Regions from separate parts of the Homo sapiens genome. Here regions 2, 3 and 4 are each linked to region 1. Evidence: promoter capture Hi-C in 16 types of primary human blood cells and fetal thymus (Javierre and others, 2016). All regions are on one chromosome and are shown on one strand. Each heading gives the region's core, a stretch centred on a gene start or on the middle of the fragment in contact. The rest is flanking DNA. Distances are from core to core; before and after follow the strand shown.

The links. Contacts are between HindIII fragments. The CHiCAGO score rates a contact against its expected background, and 5 or more counts as called.
Region 2: a contact is called between a fragment that was not itself captured here and the fragment with the promoter of ARHGAP45 in region 1, in 16 of 17 cell types (naive CD4 T cells, non-activated CD4 T cells, total CD8 T cells and 13 more). The highest score is 21.3, in naive CD4 T cells.
Region 3: a contact is called between the fragment with the promoter of MIDN here and the fragment with the promoter of ARHGAP45 in region 1, in 11 of 17 cell types (monocytes, neutrophils, non-activated CD4 T cells and 8 more). The highest score is 9.6, in monocytes.
Region 4: a contact is called between a fragment that was not itself captured here and the fragment with the promoter of ARHGAP45 in region 1, in 7 of 17 cell types (monocytes, neutrophils, endothelial precursors and 4 more). The highest score is 10.2, in monocytes.

The regions. Positions count from the first base shown.
Region 1 is chr19:1,065,917-1,070,416 of GRCh38, reverse strand. ARHGAP45 (Rho GTPase activating protein 45) reads right to left here and starts at 3,250. Exons shown (of 23, transcript NM_012292.5): 1 at 2,922-3,250; 2 at 1,673-2,003. The coding sequence starts at 3,011. RefSeq lists enhancers at 951-1,110, 3,301-3,807 and silencers at 1,501-1,600, 2,131-2,370, 2,681-3,440. The HindIII fragment of the contact is 10,211 bases long and covers 1-4,493 here.
Region 2 is chr19:1,262,972-1,267,471 of GRCh38, reverse strand. It overlaps LOC105372236 (a long non-coding RNA gene), which reads left to right and starts at 931. Exons shown (of 3, transcript XR_936233.3): 1 at 931-2,959; 2 at 3,913-4,042. It overlaps CIRBP-AS1 (CIRBP antisense RNA 1), which reads left to right. Exons shown (of 2, transcript NR_027271.1): 2 at 1. It also overlaps LOC107985303. RefSeq lists silencers at 74-123, 264-1,153 and enhancers at 3,882-3,931, 3,972-4,061. The HindIII fragment of the contact is 2,763 bases long and covers 1,236-3,998 here.
Region 3 is chr19:1,245,610-1,250,109 of GRCh38, reverse strand. It overlaps MIDN (midnolin), which reads right to left and starts at 1,527. Exons shown (of 9, transcript NM_001388306.1): 1 at 1,450-1,527; 2 at 1-220. It overlaps LOC102723811 (a long non-coding RNA gene), which reads left to right and starts at 2,038. Exons shown (of 2, transcript XR_007067082.1): 1 at 2,038-2,097; 2 at 2,249-3,842. RefSeq lists silencers at 14-63, 304-773, 804-923, 984-1,443, 1,534-2,073 and 1 more and enhancers at 917-1,450, 3,386-4,131. The HindIII fragment of the contact is 31,339 bases long and covers 1-4,500 here.
Region 4 is chr19:1,228,340-1,232,839 of GRCh38, reverse strand. CBARP (CACN subunit beta associated regulatory protein) reads left to right here. Exons shown (of 10, transcript NM_001393918.1): 9 at 1,565-1,739; 10 at 2,698-4,500. The coding sequence ends at 3,661. It overlaps STK11 (serine/threonine kinase 11), which reads right to left. Exons shown (of 10, transcript NM_000455.5): 10 at 4,409-4,500. Among named protein-coding and RNA genes, the nearest start is that of CBARP-DT, 7.3 kb to the left of the region's middle. The HindIII fragment of the contact is 3,711 bases long and covers 706-4,416 here.

The DNA.
Region 1 (4,500 bases), core at 2,001-4,500:
GGAGGTTGCAGTGAGCTGAGATCTCGCCCCTGCACTCCAGCCTGGGTGACAGAGTGAGACTCTGTCTCAAAAAAAAAAAAAAAAAAAGAAAAGAAAAGAAAAAGAAAGAAAAAAAGAAAAGCCCGGGCACGGTGGCTCATGCCTGCTGTAATCCCAGCACTTTGGGAGGCTGAGGCATGCGGATCACGAGGTTAGGGGTTTGAGACCAACCTGGCCAATATGGTGAAACCCCATCTCTACTAAAAATACAAAAATTAGCCAGGTGTGGTGGCACGCACCTGTAGTCCTAGCTACTCGGGAGCCTGAGGCAGAAGAATCACTTGAACCCGAGAGAGGAAGGTTGCAATGAGCCGAGATCGCGCCACTGCACTCCAGCCTGGGCGACAGAGTGAGACTCCATCTCACCATCTCAAATAAAATAAATAAAATAAAATAAATCAGGTGCAGTGGCTCATGCCTGTAGTCTCAGGTACTCGGGAGGCAGAGGTAGGAGGATGGCTTGAGCCCAGGAGTTCAAGGTAACAGTGAGCCTCAATCACACCACTGGACTCCAGCCTGGGCAACAGAGCAAGACCCTGTATCAAAAAAAAAAAAAAAAAAGTGCCCCACCCTGGCTGGCCCAGTTCAGACCTCCTGCAGGAGCCTGGGAGCTGAGCCCCGCCCAGGCCAGGCCTCCAAGGAAGCGCCAGGATCGGAAAGGAACCGAGATTAGGGTTTCCCCAGGAAAGCAGCCTAGCCCCCGCCCCTGGGACCAGATAACCCGGGGGCTCCCACTCCTCCCAGTGGGGACCGGGCCTTCCCCAACTAGTGCCCTGAAGGTGCAGAGGCCACTCCACCACTTGAGGTCCAGTCCTGGCTCTGCCCTGCCCTGGCTGGGTGAGCCAGGGGTCAGGGCCTCACTAGAGACTTAGTTTCGTCATCTGTAAAATGGGCGGCTGCTGGGAGCAGATCAGAGCGCCTGGCATGACCCTGGCACTGTGGTTTCTGGGAGGAGCCGGGGGCTGAAGGCAGCACATGAGGTGCCCGCCTGGGCTGCCAGGGACAAACAGGAAGCAGATGAAAATAACTCGGCAGGAAGCAGGGCTGTCAGCGGCCGCGTGGAGGAGAAAACGGAACTGCCGGCCTGCAGGCCGCTGGGTCCCAGCACCTCCGCCGCCTGATGACCCCATCCTGCCCCTCGCCATGCCTCCTGAATCTCTCTCCACCCAGACCTCAGCCAACCCCCAGTTTGCTTCATTCCAAGACACAGATCTGCCCCCATCTGTCCTGTGCTCTAACACCTTCTATGGCTCCCCATTGCCCTTCTGCCTGGCGTTGTCATGCCTTCATCCTACACCAGCGGCACCCCACACCTTGGCCCCCAAATGCATTCTCTGTTTCCGTGTTTCTGAGCCTGTGCATGGGACATTTCCTCTGCCTTTCCCTCCTAATTGCCATCAGATCCTTTAAAAAAAATAAAGTGGGCACCCTCTTGAGCCAGTGTACGCTCAGGGACTCCCCCACCAAACTCCTACACATCCCTCAGAGCCTTAGCTGTCATGGCCTCTTCCACACAGCCCTCCCTGCCATCTGAGCCTCCCTCCCTTCTGAGCCTCCCCAAGTCCCTCCCTCCATCCTCCCTTGGGTCTGGCTCTGTCTTCCACCCAGGCCTCGGTGTCCCCGTGGCTCTCACCGTCACGCAACACACACTCCTTAAGTTTCTCAAGGCCCTCAGCGAAGCGGGCCACGTCCGCCAGCAGATGGGAGATGTCCTCGACGACGTCCGGGCCGGCACCCTCGGTGGGCAGCTCGCCCGGGCTGGCGGCTGTCAGTGGGCTCCGGTGGCTCCGGCCCAGTGTCCAGGAGGCAGCACCCGACAGGGGGAAGCCAGCCGCGCTGGCGTGGCGGCTCAGGCTGGTGGGCCGCTTGAGGGTCCCTGTGGCCTTGACGCCGGAGGACCCAGCGGGCGGCTCCAGGCTTGGTCCGGGGAACACCGCGTCAGCCCCATCCTTCCTGGGCAGCTCCTTGGGCAGGTCCGAGGGGAGCTCGTTAAAGGGATTTTCCGGCCTGGACACGGCCTCAGTTTCCCCAGAAATGAAGTGGGGCTGTGGAGGGCCACCATCACCCTGACCCCACAGGGGTCAAAGGCCAGAGGTCACAGGGCCGAGATTTGGTAGTGTACCCCCCCACCTGTTACCCAACATCCTCTTCCCTAGAGCTTTCACAAACAACGGTCCTTGCCCAAACCACAGCCGGGGCGGGGCCTGCGGGGAGGCGCGGGAGGGGGGTCCCCACTTCCTGGTGGGGGTGGGGAGGGTCCTCAGCCCTTCAAGCCCCCCTCAGGCTCCTACAACGCAGGTGCTTTAAGTGAACACACTTCTGACTCTGTCTGTCCCCTAAAGGTCCATGGAACCCCAGAGCCTATGGGCAGCCCCAGGCCTTGTAGACATCCCGGACCCCCAAGCTCTGTAGACCCCCCCCCCAGCTTTGTAGACACCCCAGGCCTGGGGACACTCCCCAACCTCTGAACCTGGTGGATCCCATTAGAGGATCTGCTGCCCGGTCAACCTTCAGCCCAATGGCCAGGCCACAGCCCTCCCATCTCAACGGCCCCTAGAGCCCCCAGATTGCCTAAGCCCCCAACCTGCAGCGGCCCAAACACAACATCGTCCCAACCCGGCACCCTCCCTTCCTGCTCCCTGGGCCCCGCGGCCAGCCCTGGATGGAGTGGAGGGAGGCGGCCACCACTCCCAGGGTCCCTACCGTGAGCTGAATGCCGGGGTCCCGGCCTCTCTGCTGTGGCCCCTGCCGTCCCGCCCGGTAGGGGCTGTAGCTGGCACGAGCCCCCAGCCGCCGCCCCAGCATGAGCCCCGAGCACAGGGCGGGTCCCTGTCCCCCTGCGGCCCGGCGTCAGCTCCGGGTCTCACCCGGGCTCCACTCACCCCCGAGGGCTGCGGGCTGGGGCTTCCCGCGCGGTTCTTTTTCGAGATGGAAGGGGTTTTCATGAGCTCTCGTTTCTTCCTGGAGAACATGATGGGGCCCCGGCCGGGAGCCCGAGGGGGCGGGCTGGGGGTCTCAGCGCTGCAGCTCCCGGCGCTGGCCGCTTCGGGACCACATTGTCGCCGGCCACCCCCTCCCCAGCTGTCAGGCCCACGTGACAGGCCCGGCCGTCACTGGCGGGCCCTCCCCCCAACAGGAAAAGGCTTCGGGGAGGCGGCGACGCGGCCTCGCCCCCGACCCTTCCCGGCCTCAGCCTGCGGCTCTGCGGAGTGGGCGCGAAGGTGAGGTCGCAGGCCCCGCCCCCAGCCCCGGGCCGCGCCCCCCGCTTCCGCCTTCGGGAGCTCGGAGCCGCGCCGCTCGCGGGGTGGGACCGGGAGCCCCTGCCTGACGCTGGCGGGCACGGGGCGGCCGACTGCAGGGCGCTGACTCTCACTCCCGGACGCGAGTGGGCGTGCACAGACACGTGCACGATGACACGCAGAGACCCGGACCTCCACACGCGCTCAGACGCCACCAAGCCCCTGGAGCCTCGCCCTCAGACCCCAGACACACGCACAGGCCGAAGCTGCGCCCCTGCAGCCCCCTTTTCCCTGAAGGCAAGCCCGCTCCACCGCCTCTCCTGCAGACCCTAGGGTGTGGCCGGGCCCCAGCAGGGCCGGGCAGAGTAGGGTCCCCCCCATCACCCGCCCTGCAGCCCCGTGAAGTGGGTCAGGTCGAGGACAGGTGGGGAAACTGAGGCCCAGAACCGAAACCCTGGGGGCAAAGACGTCCAGGAAGTCAGAACAATCCAGGTTACCGGGCCCTGTCCGTCTGGGTCCCCACGTCCGTCTGGGTCCCCACGTCCACCTGGTCCTGGGCTGCCTGCACAGGGGTCCCCAAAGTGTGGTGTGGACCCCACCATCGGCAGAATATGCTGAGGACACCTGGTTACCTCTCAGCAGCCCTGTGGGCCATATCATGTTGCCCCAGACCTGCCCTTAGCTAAGGTCCCCAGCCCCGCCTCCCAAGCTGCATTCCAGTGACTCTGGACCACCGGACGTGCTGGGCAGCAGGACGCAGGCACCCGTTGCTGATAACAGCCTGAGGCGGCATTGGCCAAGAGCTGGGGCATCTGCAGGCATACAGATCCCAGCCTCCTACCTTCCCCCAACCCCCACCCCGCAGTGTGAACTCTCTCCCCCCTCCCCAAGTCTCCCTGCTGTCCCCTTCCAGAACCCCACCCCCAATCCCAAAACCCCAACCTCTTTCCTTTCCCAAACCCCATTCCCACCTACCTCGGGTGGGAGGGGCAGATCTCTGGGGCACAGGACATGAAGGCCACAGCCCCTTGCTCCAAGTCTGGCTCTCCAGGCCCAGGTCCAAGTGCAAACCCAGCCCAGCAGACCCTTGAGAACTCTTTGCCCCCGACTCATGGCGCTGAGGGCTGGGGTCAGAGGGTGAGGGTCAGCTGGATGTCGGATGGGCTTCTGGCCCGGCCCTGGCCTGTGCTCCGGGACACCGGGCTCCTGTAAGCTTCCCAGG
Region 2 (4,500 bases), core at 1,368-3,867, 200 kb before region 1:
AGCCAGTGCCTAGTTATTAAGCGCTTACTACGAGCGGGTTCCTGGGTGCGGGCTCCGTGAGTGTCCGCAGCCATCCTGGGTTCCCAGGGTGGCGTTGACACGCACCTGCGCACACCTGCCGCTTTGCATCTGTGCCGAGCACTGTGCACCGGCTTCCAGGTGTGGACCTGTGTCGGTACCTGTGCCTCTGGGGTCAGCTGCGTCTGCGAGCACCCGTGACTCCCAGGTATCTCACCGCGATCCTGTGTCCCCACCGGGGGTCTCAGGCGGCTGGGACCCCTTCATCCACCCCTGCTGGCCACTGACCATGCGGGACCCGACCGGGACGCGCTGCCCGTTGCGGACACCAGGGGGCGCTGCGGCCTCGCTCCGTCCGCGGCGTTTGGCTCGAGCGGCCGGGCTCCCGGTGCCGCCGCTCCACGCAGACGCCTCGCGTGGGAGAGGGGGCCCCGCCGCCCAGCCCTGCGCGGCCACAGCGCACAGTCCTCGAGGGGTCCAATCTCGCGGGGCGAGGACGCAGCCTGCGTGTCGACCCCCAGCCTCCCGCCGCCCCCGCGCCTCGGCCCCAACGGAGGAGCTCAAAATAGCCGCGCCGGGCGGGGGCGAGACTGCTATTCCGGGCCCGACGCGCGGGGCTCGCCCCTGCCCGGCGAGGCGCGGGGATCAGTCAGAGTCCCCGAACCTGCTCCCCGCGCGTCTGTCTTGGGCCCCGTGGGCCCATTCACAAATCCGCCCCCTTTCCAGCCTGCCGTCTCGGAAGGGGCGCGCACCTCCTGCACCCTGATACTCCTCCCGGGCCTCCTCCCCTGCGGGGCGTCGCCATGGAGACGAGGGCGGAGCTCCCTCGCTCCCGCACCGCCCACTCCGCCCTCCCCACGGGGCCCCGCCCGCCGGACGCCAGGTCCTCCCCCGACCCCGACTAATGACCGGGCGGGAGGCGGTAGAGAGCGTCTAGGCCTGCGACGGGCGTGGCCGAGGATGAAAGGCGCGTGGGGGGGACCCCGGGGCCGCATAATTACCGCCTCCTCCTAGCCAGGCGGGGGCCGGGACCGTGCACCTGGCGGCCGCCCCGCGGGGGCGCAGAAATAGGACCGTCCTGGCAGAGGCTGCAGCCGACCCAGCTGGCCCCACTACGCGGGGCCCAGAGCCAGGGTGGGGGATGCAGAGACCGGGCGTGCGGGTTGCCAGGTGTGGCGCACATGTGTGCCCGTGGGCAGAGTACAGAGACACAAGCTTGTGTGGACACGAATGTGTAGCTATGTGCGAGTGCACACGGCGTGGTGAGTGCAGGGACCCCAGGCCGGCCTGCGTCGGTGCGCAGGGCATATAGGGGCGTGCACGCAGTCTTGGAGGTGTGTGCACAGAGCCCCCGGCACCCGCGTGTGTGCAAAGACACAGGAACCCGTCTGCGTGGCGCTGTGTGTGCAACCCAAGGAGGTGGGCGCTTGGACTCCAAAGTGTGCGCTTATCCGGATGTGGATGTGGGGGCAGCCGGGGACAGGGCTGGGTGTGCGTGACTCGGGTGTGCCGGGACCCACAGAGCATATGTGTCCATGCCTGGTGCTGTGACTCATGTCCCTGGGGTGGGCACGCGTGCTGTGTCAGCGGGAGCCGCGCCTCCCAGGGCAGCCCAGAGTTCCAGAAGCCCAGAAGAGGAAGGGTTAAACCTGCCTCTTCCCCCAGCTCCCAGCTGAGTCCAGGGCTGGGATCTCAGGTCCCCTGGGAGGCCCCGCGCGCCCCCCCCCGCCACCCCGCCCCACCCCCGGGCCTGAGATTCAGGGGCTGCTACACAGGAAAGCCGGACTGAGCTGCTCCCCAGCCTCAGTTTCCCTCCTGTTCCTCGGATGCGTTCGCAGGGTGGGTCGGCTTCCCTTCCCTGTGACTCACCCCCTCCCCACAGGCCTGAGTCACAGCTCAGGAATGTGGAGGCTGGGAGGCCCTGTCTACTCCTGCCCCGGCCAGGCCATCCCAGCAGCCCAAAGGCCAGGCCTGGGCCACAGAGGGACATCCCCGGCACACACACCCCGCCACAGGCCACACACAGGTGCACACCCACACCCCTGCTTCGTACCCACTGGACACAAAGTCATACACCATGCACTCGGCATCCGGAGACCCTGCCTGCCACAGGCACACGCAGTAGACAGGCTGGGGACAGGACGGACCCCGACCTGCCCTGGGGTCACACACCTGTTTGCTCTTTCAGTACACAGGATACTGCAGAGACATAGGTGACCCCTTCTGCTGGGGCGCAGACCAGCCAAGCACATGTGGCGGACGTGTAGTGACGTGCACCCATGCGTGTCTGTGACGTGCAGATCAGGTGTCTGTGAAAGGCCCAAGACCCTGCATGGCCCACGGACACCCTAAAGCTGACCGAGGCTTAGGCTCGCCTGCGTGGACGCTGGGGATGCAGCCACCTAGTTTCTGAAACTGGGAAAAGGTCTGGGGGCTCCGGAGCCCCCACCTCCATGCAGCCTCAGATGTTGCTTAGCAACAGATGCGCGCTCTGGGGTAGGCGGATGGATCTCCACCTGGGCCCAGTTCCCTCTCATGGGACTACACGTCCTGTGCCTAACAGAGAGGTCAAAGAGTGGGGATTTCCTGCAAAGCCAACCAGGCTCAGGGTGGCCCTGCCTAGGGTGGGAGGTATCTCCATGGCAACAGTGGAGTGGGACAAGTGGAGAGTATTTCCCCACTCTCCCAGGCAGCTGCAGGGGCTCAGGACCTACGGAGTGCAAGTGAAGACACCTATGTTGCATCTTGCTGGAGAGGCACCTGGCACCTGCCCGCCCCAGCGTGCCTGGAGGGTTCCCACATCCAGACGGACAGACGGGCCAGGGGACACCCGTCCAGGCAGCCATGGCTGCTCAGCCACAGTCCCTGGAGGGTCAGGGGCCCAGCTGTGAGGCAGGCGGTGCCCAAGACGCTCTCTGGACCGCACTGCTTCATCTGAGAGGTGGGCATGCCAGCAGCACCTCCTGGGGTTAGAGGCGCACAGGGAAGACCTGGTAGGAAGTCGGTCAAGGGCAGTTAGCAGCAAAAGACAGCTCCACGCAGCGCCAGGCTTTCCTTGTTGTTTGCTTCCTTGATGTGGCAGTCCACATGGAATCATCCCGTATGCAGGCCGGGAGCGCTGGCTCATGCCTGGAATCCCAGCACTTTCGTTTGAGTCCAGGAGTTTGATACCAGCCGGGGCAACATAGCTAGACCCTGTCTCTACAAAAAAAAAAAAAAAGCAAAATTAGCTGGGCATGGTGGTGCTCACCTGTAGTCCCAGCTACTCAGGAGGCTGAGGCAGGAGGATCGCTTGAGCCCAGGAGTTCCAGCGAGGCTGCAGTGAGCTGTGATGGAGCCACTGCGTTCCAGCCTGGAAAGAGAGTGAGACCCCGTCTCGAAAATACTAATAACTGGGGCCAGGTGTGGTGGCTCACACCTGTAATCCCAGCAATTTGGGAGGCCAATGCGGGTGGATCATTTGAGGGCAGGAGTTTGAGACCAGCCTGACCAACATGGTGAAATCCCTTCTCTACTAAAAATAAATAAAATTGGGCTGGATGCTGTAGCTCACGCCTGTAATCCCAGCACTTTAGGAGGCCGAGACAGGCAGATCACTTGAGATCAGGAGTTCGAGACCTGCCTGGCCAACATGGGGAAAGCCCGTCTCTACTAAAAAAATACAAAAATTAGCCGGGCGTGGTGGCGGGCGCCTGTAATCCCAGCTACTCCAGAGGCTGAGGCAGGAGAATCACTTGAACCCGGGAGGCAGAGGTTGCGGTGAGCCGAGATCGCGCCAATGCACTCCAGCCAGGGCGACAGAGCGAGACTCCGTCTCAAAACAAAAACAAACAAAAATAATAATTGTCCCGTATGCTAACTCTCCTGTTTCATTTGTATTTCCAACATGCACAGAAAGACTTTTGGAAGGCATAGGTTGGGGCTCGCCTGGGAACCCCTCTCCATCCCCCACCCAGACTCCAGCAGGCTGGAGTCAAGCTTGGCTGGGCAGCGGAGGATCACTGGTGCACAGAGGGGTGAGTGGGTGAGTGTCTGTGGCTGGAGGCCCTGGGGGTGTTCCTGCCCCCGCCCAGGCGTGTGTTGGTTGTGGGGGAAGGCTGCTGCCCTCTCTGTATCTGGTCAGGGCCCTCTTTGTATCTGGTGACAGCTGCGGTGTGTGGTGGGACTCTGCAGGCTGGAGTTTTGTTTGGGGAGGCCTTGGCCCAGGCTGAGCAAGGAGGTTCTGTTTGTTTTAGGGTCACACAGTGGATTGAGGTTGGGGACAGGTATATGGGGTGTGTCTGGGGGGGGGGGTTGTGTATCTGGGAGCCTGGCACACCAGCCGCACCCATAAATGCGTGGCCTGTGGAGGGCTGTCCCGGGCGTGCTGGTCGGGGGTGTGGGATGGCTGTGCAGGCCCCTCGTGGGATGGCACCCATTGGTTTTGCTTGCTCTCCCCCAGGGCTGAGTGTGGGTAGCGTCCTGGGTATGGGGCATGTGCCC
Region 3 (4,500 bases), core at 278-2,777, 180 kb before region 1:
CTCCGAGGTCGCTCCGGCTCCTGGGGGCGCCTTCCGGGGGTGGGGACGGCACTTGCTTCTCCTTCAAAGGGCGGCGGGCGCGACCGGGACGCGGCGCGGTTAAGGGTCCTGGGGAGGGGGCGCCGCTCGGCTGGTGGCGCTGGGTGCCGTCTGCCGCCCGGGTCGCGCTTCCTCGCGCGTCCCCTCCCTTAGCAACAGCCGTCGCCGCCGCTCGGAGGATCTGGGGGTGAAAGTAACAAGAAAAAAAAGTTATAATGTATCAACGTTCCAGGGGGCGGGGCCGCCGCCCCCTCCCATTCACTACTTACTCCGCCGGCCGGGCGCCGGCCAATCGCCGCGCGCCGAGCGCCCAGTCGGCCGCGAGCCCGGGCCTATGAGAGCCGCCGCGGCACCGCCCCACGTGGCAGCCGGGCCCGCCCCCTCGCCCCGCCCCCAGCGCCCAGGCGACCAAGGGGAGCGCAGCGGGGGCGGGGCTGGCGCCTCTCCGCGCCCGCCCCCGCCCCGCCCGCGCCCGCAGCCATTCATAAGCGCCCGGAGCCCGCAACAAAGGGCGGGCGCGCCCCGGGGGGCGCGGGACCCAGGTCTGGAGACGGGTCTGGTACCCCTCGCGATCCCAAGGGAGCGGCCGGGAGCGGGAGGGGGCGCGGGCCATTGTTCCCGGCGCCGGGAGGGGCAGGAAGTCGTGGGGCCACCCCGCCGCCTTCGTCCGGGAAAAGCCGCGAGCGGAAGCGGGAGCGCGAAGTCCGCGCCTCGTGGCCGGGGTCCCGGGGCGGGCGGGCGACGGTGAGGCTAGGGCCGCGGCCCCGGGGAGGGCGTGGTGCGTGGGGGCGGAGTTGTGGCCGGGGCGGGGCGCCCGCACCTCGGTGACGTGGCCGGGTGGCTGCCGCCGGGGGCCCCGCGCGCCCACCCGCCGGCCGCGGGCAGAACCCGTTTCCCCGAGGCGCGCCCGCTCGAGCCGTGACGTGACGCGGCGTCCCCGGCTGCGCCCGCGCGCGCTCGGGGATGCGGTGAGTCAGCAGCTCGGGCGCGCCCTCTGCCGGGCCCGCCTGGGAGCGCCGCCCGGAGTCCCGGGGAGGGGGCGCCGCGCTGCCCCTGGCAGGGGAGGAAGACGACTGGGCTGCGCGCGGGGGAGGAACCCCGATCGGGAACGAAAGACTGTAGTCGGGAGACTGGGACCGTGTGGCTGGGCAACGGAGGGCGGAACGGCAACCAGTTCAAGGTCACCCGCGGTGAAGGGGGAGTGCCCCGGGGGGCGGGGCGGGGGCTGAGGTCCGGCCAGGGCGGCGCTGGCTGCGCGGAGCCCCTCCCACCCCGCACCCCGGGGGGCTTCCCAGGACCGGAGGCTCCCCGATCCCTCCTGTCCCAAGAACAAAGAAAAGTGCGGGCATCCTGAGCCATCTAGAGTGGGCACCCTTCCTCGGCCCGCAGGTCCCCCCCCTCCACACTCACCGGGCGCGGCCGGTTCTGCGCTCCAAGTGCTGCGAGTACCTTCGTCCGGGGCCGAATGCGCGCTGGCCGGGCCGGTCTGGGCCAAGCGCGCGGCCCTCAGCCTTTATCCGCGCCGCCTTCCCTCGGGGTGGAGTTAGGGCGGGCAGGGGGGCGGGGGGCCGGGCGGGCGGTGACGCAGACTGGCCCCCGCCCCTGCCTGCCGGCCCTGGCCCTGGGGCGCCTTGACGGCTGGGCCACCCGGGACCCAGGCTTGGCGCAGTTCATGGGGGGACTCCCCTTGAATGCCCCGAGCCAAGGGTCTCGGCCCGCCTCGCCGCGGGCTGAGATGCACCCCGAATCGTCAGCGGGACAGGGTTTTGGGGTGTACAGCGCGACTCGCTGCCCCGCCCCCTTCCTGTCGCCCCAGGCCCGGTGCTTCCGCCTGGGGGCGCCCGCGTGGGGGGGACGGGAAGAGGGGCCTGAGTCAGCGGCTGTCGTCCAGGAAAACAGGCTGGAGTCACCTGCCGTAGAGTGGGGGTGCCCTGGCCAGCCCTGGCCTCCTGCATCTGTCAATGGTGACCTCAGAGGGCATTTATGGAGCGATTAGCCAGTGCCAGGCCTGCCTTGTGCCCAGCCAGTCACCAGCCGGCTATGCTGTGACCCCGGGAGGTAACTGGCCTCTCCAAGCCTCAGTTTCTCCAGGGTGGGTGGGAGTGTGGTGAGGGGATGCGGCAGGATCACTTTGGGGCCATCACCCCCCATTAATGCAGGACATGCACTGGTTCCCAGCCTTTGGGGTGGGCATTACCCCATTTTACAGATGAAGAAACTGAGGCCACAGCCAATGAGACACGAATGTGGTGTGCATCTCACCCTTCCCCGTCGGCTTTTTGAGGATGGTCCTGGTTGAGGTGGGCCCCGTCCTGCCCCTCTATTTAGAGAAGGGGACCCCATTCCTACGGGAGCACCTCCTGTCCACTCATCTGGCCCCTCCCTTTATCTGGCCTGACCACCTCCACCCCCACCCTGGCCATGGGCGCCCCTCCCAGGGCTGCGCTCCTCCCCAGGTCTCCTTCCGGCTGCCACCCATGCTCCCGGCAGCCGTGGCCCCCACCTTGACAGGCACACCCAGCCCCGAAGGGTCAGGGCTAGGCCAGAGAGGGAGAGGCTGGGATAACCCTTGGAAGGGGGTCACAGGGGCTGCGGTTTGAGGAATGACTAGGAGTTTGTCACATAAAAAAGATGATGCGGTCGGGCGCGGTGGCTCACGCCTGTAATCCCAGCACTTTGGGAGGCCGAGGCGGGCGGATCACAAGGTCAAGAGATTGAGACCAGCCTGGCCAACATGGTGAAACCCTGTCTCTACTAAAAATACAAAAATTAGCTGGGCATGGTGGCATGTGTCTGTAGTCCCAGCTACTCAGGAGGCTGAGGCAGGAGAATCGCTTGAACGCGGGAGGCGGAGGTTACAATAAACCCAGATCGTGCCAGGGCACTCCAGCCTGAGCGACAAAACGAGATTCCGTCTCAAAAAAAAAAAAAAAAAAAAAAAAGGCCGGGCGCGGTGGCTCATGCCTGTAATCCTGGCACTTTGGGAGGCCGAGGCGGGCGGATCACGAGGTCAGGAGTTCGAGACCAGCCTGATCAACATGGTGAAACCCTGTCTGTACTAAAAACACAAAAATTAGCCAGGCGTGGTGATGTGCGCCTGTAATCTCAGCTACTTGGGAGGCTGAGGCGGGAGCATTGCTCGAACCCGGGAGACGGAGATTGTGGTGAGCTGAGATTGTGCCATTGCACTCCAGCCTGGGCAATAAGAGCGAAACTCCTCTCAAAAAAAAAAAAAAAAAAAAAAAAAAAAGACGATGGTCCAGGAAGTGGGAATGGCTTGAGCAGTTCTGGGAGCTTAGTGAACTGGACCCAGTTGGAGGGAGGAGGGGCAGGGTCGATGAATGGGGCTTGGATGAAGGGCTGGGGCCCCAGGTGGGAACTACAGGGCCAGGCTCATTCTGCTTCCAGTGAGAACAAAGGTGGCGGAGGGAGCCGTGGACTGGTGCCAAATGAGCAGCCCAAGCAGGACACTGGGGCCCCCTGTGAGTGGCCAGCAGCCCCCACCTCCCTCCCTGCCTCTTGCCTCTCGTGTGTGGCTCTGCCACCTGCACACCGTCACCTCAGTCTGGTCGGGAGTGGAATGGACACCGTCACCTCAGTCTGGTCGGGAGTGGAATGGACACCGTCACCTCAGTCTGGTCGGGAGTGGAATGGACACCATCACCTCAGTCTGGTCGGGAGTGGAATGGGACACGGGTTGTCGGAACTTGCTGGGCTTCACAGGGGCCACTGTGTGGCCCTTTGGGGACCAGATGCCCAGAGCCAGTCTAAATGAATAAACATGCTAAAACGCTTCCCCACCATTTCCCATACTCGGCGTCCCCATGGTTGAGTGGGTTGTTCCTGGGTGTGATGGGGACAAACCCTGTGCTCTGTTCTGCCTCACTAAGCCAGGGGCTGCCCTCACTGAAGGGCCTTGACCGCCTGGTTCCCGGCCCCACCCTGACTGCCTCCTGCTCCAGGACGCATCCAGCCAGCACGGGCTGTTCCCTCCGAGTGTCAGGTGTCTCGGGTGTCCTGAGGCCTGGCTCCAAGGTTCACACCCTCCCTGGTGGTGGGGGCAGGGGAGGTCCCCGGAGTGAGCAGCTCCTCCCGCTGGGCCCCTGCTAAGTCCCAGCTGTGCCCTTGGTCTTATTTATAGGGTCCTGGTGGCCTGGCAGGAACTTGAAGACCTGGGGCTGGAACTGGGGGCGGGGGGGAGGGGGGGCCTGGGCAGAGGCTGCTCCTGTGGCCTGGTGGCTGACACAACCTTCCCTGGGCTGCGGATTCCTGGAGAAGTGGGGGCCTGGTCACTCGTGTCCCGAGGCCCAAGTGGAGGGGGAGCCAGGCAGGGGACCGTGGGCTGTTCCAGAATACCTGATCTGCTGACCGGCGGCCTCAGAGTCGCAAGGCCCCCAACGGCACCTCGCCTCAAGTGAAGCTGTGGCAAGTCACCCGCATAGTGCCATGACGTGGGAGTGA
Region 4 (4,500 bases), core at 1,312-3,811, 160 kb before region 1:
TATGGTCAGAGAGGCTGTGTCTCCACAACTCTGCTGCTGTTGAGGCGAGGAAGCAGTCAGAGGCGCTGCATGACGAATGCACGTGGCTGTGTGCCAGTAAAACTTACCGAAGCTCCGGGGCAGGGGGTGCTTTTGCCCTCTGGGCTGTAGCACATAGATCCCTGGACTGTTTGACAGTAGCCCTTCAATTCTGCAGGCCTTGGGTCAGGCAGGATCCTGGAGACAGGGCTGCCTTATCTGGGCTCGAGGCAGGAGTTTGTGTGGGGAGCAGAGGTGTCCCATCTGTAGCACTGGCAGCAGGCACCAGCCCTGCTCAGCCAGCTCAGCAGGGCCAGGGCAGCCCAGAGGGGCTGGGGCCCGCTCTGCCTTGTGGACAGGGTGGCAGGTCCTGTCGTCAGGTGAGGCCAGGATAGGGGACAAGTGCAGAGAGAAGGTGCTGTCAGCATGACAGAGGACACATCATCAGACAGTGGGAGACCCTGTGTTGTGGCTCCAGCCAGCGGGGGTGGGGTGAGTTCTCCCAGCCCCCACCCCCAAGGTAGCTAGGGGCCAGGGAGGGGAAGGCCTCCTCTGGCTGCCCCGCTCCAGCTGAGAGAATCCAGATCTTGAAATGAATGGGGCCCAGGGGTGACTAGAGACATTTAGAGTCCAATGTGGTTGCAGCACATCCCAGAACCTGTTTGCTGGGGCCTGCCCACTCAAGCTTTGCTGGGGAGGCTGTTGGGAGAAGGGGGCCGAGGCAGGGGTGGGGCAGTCCCCCAGCGCTCTCCAGACCAGGGTGGAGCTGGCAGGAGAGGGCACCTCTCTCCCTCTCCTCGTTGGCCCCCACCAGCCTGTATGTGACTCTCTCATGCCTTCCGTAGTTTCAGCCAGGCTGTGCAGGCCACCAGGTGTCCAGGACACGCCCTTATGAGTGGCCACATGTTGACCAGGGCTGCCACAAGGCACTATCGGTGCCAGAGGCCCTTCCACTCACTCGCTTCCTGGCCCTGCCCTGCTCAGGCTCTCTGGTCCCAGCACCTCTTCCCTCCGTGCCTCAGTTTTCTCACCTGTACTCCAGGGTGTACACACAGCCACTGTCCGCACCCACCTGACCCGGGGAGATGCCAGCCAGGGTCTGGCCCAAGCCAGGGCCCACTCCTGTGTGTGTGAGACAGAGACAGGGCACACGCGTTGTGTGTGTGTGGGGGCCACAGGTGTTCTGTGTGTAGGAGGGTACAGGCATTCTGTGGGGGGGGCACAGGCATGGGGGGTGCACAGGCGTTCTGTGGGGGGGGCACAGGCGTGTGTGTGTGAGGGGGCCACAGGCGTTCTGTGGTGGGGGGCACAGGCGTTCTATGTGTGTGTATGGGGGCCACAGGCGTTCTGTGTGTGGGGGGGGCCCAGGCGTTGTATGTGTGGGGGGCACACGTTGTGTGTGTGTGGTGGGGGTCCACAGGCGTTGTGTGTGGCGGGGGGGCACAGGCATTGTGTGTGTGTGGCGGGGGGGCATAGGCATTCTGTGTGTGTGTGGAGCGGGTGGAGGCACATGCCGGCTGACGCTTACGGCACATCCCGTGCGCAGGTTCCCCCAAGCGGCACCACTTCCAGCGGCAGCGGGCAGCCAGTGAGAGCACGGAGCAGGAGGAGGGGGATGCCCCCCAGGAGGACTTCATCCAGTACATTGCCCGGGCGGGCGACGCCGTGGCCTTCCCGCACCCCCGCCCCTTTCTGGCCAGCCCGCCCCCTGCTCTCGGCAGGTATTTTTCAGTAGATGGAGGTGCTAGGGGTGGACCTGTGGGCCCTTGCCCCCCTTCGCCCCCCCCTAGGCGGCCCAGGGAGCGCTCTCCAGGCCCCGTGGACACGCGCTCGCCTGCCTCCAGCGGCAAGGCCCCTCCCAGAGGCGGACTCACTGGGGCCACCTCTCCAGCATGGACCAGAGGAGGGAAGCAGGGAGAGACTGGGTAAGGGTAGGGCGGTGGGTGGGGAGGAGGGGCCCCCCGAGGATGGCGCTGGTACTGCTGCTTGCTGGTGGAGTCCGAGGCCTGAAGGGTTCTGCTGTGGTCCCAGGCCCTCTCCCACCCCCGCCCCGCCCATGCTCCCAAGGCTGGGCAGACTCCTCTCAGAAGCTGCTGTGACCACTCCGGCCAGCAGCACCCCTCCCCCAACCCAAGGGCAACTTCCCTGAAGCCCAGGGCCCACGTCGGTGGGATGGGAATGGGGCGTGGGGCTGGGGCAGAGCAGGGTTCCTGGGGCAGCCCTGGTATGGCGGGTGACCCTCACGTCTGTGCACTGTCCTCCTGCTGGTTATCCAGCATGGGTGGGCAGAGAGCCCTAGCCTGGAGCAGGGGCTGAGCTGGACTCAACCGCGTCCAGTCCATCCCCTGCGGCTCCCACGTCCACTGGGAGGCTGGGAAAACGTGACTCCCGGAGAGAAGCATGTTGACTTTTCCTGGGGGCTTCCAAGGGAGGGGGCCCCGCCGTCTGCAGTCCAGCATGGAGGCACCCTGCTTAATAAGCAGGCGCCACAGCTCAGGGTCAATGCAAGACGCATCCCCTGCAAAACACACTGGCTCATTTTAAAGCTCTCACCTTCCAAGGCCCGCCCGAGTCCCAAGTCCCACCCGCGTCCACCCTCCCTGATCCAGAGGCGGGATGGCCGGCCGGGTAGGGGGCGCGGGGCTCGGCGGGGCTCTGACGGCGCGGCCTGGCTTGCAGGCTAGAGGCGGCCGAGGCAGCGGGAGGAGCGAGCCCCGATTCCCCCCCGGAGCGCGGCGCGGGCAGCGCGGGGCCTGAGCAGCAGCAGCCGCCACTGGAGCCGGACGCCGAGCGGGACGCGGGCCCCGAGCAGGCCCAGACCAGCTACCGCGACCTGTGGAGCCTGCGCGCCTCGCTTGAGCTGCATGCGGCCGCCTCGGACCACAGCAGCAGCGGCAACGACCGCGACTCGGTGCGCAGCGGCGACAGCTCGGGCTCAGGCTCCGGGGGCGCGGCGCCCGCCTTCCCGCCGCCCTCCCCGCCCGCGCCGCGGCCCAAGGACGGCGAGGCGCGCCGGCTGCTGCAGATGGACAGTGGCTACGCCAGCATCGAGGGCCGCGGCGCAGGCGACGACACCGAGCCACCTGCCGCGCCCGCCCGGCCCCGCAGCCCGCGCGCCTGGCCCCGCCGCCCGCGCCGCGACTACAGCATCGACGAGAAGACGGACGCGCTGTTCCACGAGTTCCTGCGCCACGACCCGCACTTCGACGACACGCCGGCTGCCGCGCGACACCGCGCCCGCGCGCACCCGCACGCCCGCAAACAGTGGCAGCGTGGCCGGCAGCACAGCGACCCCGGCGCCCGCGCGGCCCCGGCCCTGGCCGGAACCCCGGCACCGCCTGCCGGCGCGGCCCGACCCGCGCGTGCGCCCTTGCGGCGCGGCGACAGCGTGGACGGCCCGCCCGACGGTCGCACCCTGGGCGGCGCCGGCGACGACCCCGCCATCCCCGTCATCGAGGAGGAGCCGGGCGGCGGGGGGTGCCCCGGCTCGGGCCTGTGCGTCCTACCATCCGGGTCGGTGCTGGACAAGCTGGCGGCTGGCCTCGACGAGAGACTCTTTCCGCCGCGCCTCGCCGAGCCCGTCGTGGCGACTCCCGCGTTGGTCGCCGCCGCCCCCACGTCCCCCGACCACAGCCCGGCCTAAGTCCCGCGTCCTGGGCCCATCTCTCTGGCAGCTTCTCCGGCGCCGCACGGGGCCTCGGCGGCGGGAGAGACGTGGGGGCGCGACGCCCCGACGCGAATGCGCGGGGACCGCGGGCCCTTCGCGCACGCGCCGGGCGACGGAGGCGCGCTCGCCGCTTCAGGGCGCAGGCGCAGAGCCCCGGCCGCCCTCGCGCCGCCGAAGTGTGCACTGCTCTTTCCGGTGCTTGCCGGGTGCTGGGCGTCGTGAGGCGCGGGCCGCGGAGACCCCGGCTGGGCGGGAAGGAAGGGGCGTGAACGGCTCTCAGCTTCGGGCTCCTGAGGACAACGATCACTCGCCCTCAGTCCCGGACGGGGCGGCCGCTTAGTCGCAGGGCCCGCCACCCGAGGGTCGCGCAGCCCACTGGGCCCGATGGAGCCGCCGCGTGCCGGGCGCGTGCGCGAGCTCGCCCGGGCGGGGGCCGCGGGGCGCTAACGGTCGCAGACGAGTTCGCCGCCCTGGGCCGGGAGGCGGCTCAACACCGTGACTGCCGACCTCCGAGACCGTTTACCTCACTGCGGCGTGTGCTGGCGGCAGCCCGCGCCGCCTCCGAGCAATAACCGCGCCGCCACCGCTGCTGCCGCCGGCCCTGAGGGAGCCGGCCCCGGCCCTCCCGCGCCCCGAGTCCCCACTGCCCTCCGCATGTCAACGGCGCCCGCCCCGCTGCCGCCCCATCCACGTTGAGACGCGAACAAAACCCAGACGGCCAGGTCCAAGCTTCCCAAGCTTTATTTATTGCCAAATTTGGGCGGCCTCGCCCGCACGGCACCCTCCGAGTCCCCGCCGCGTCTGCACCATCCCGC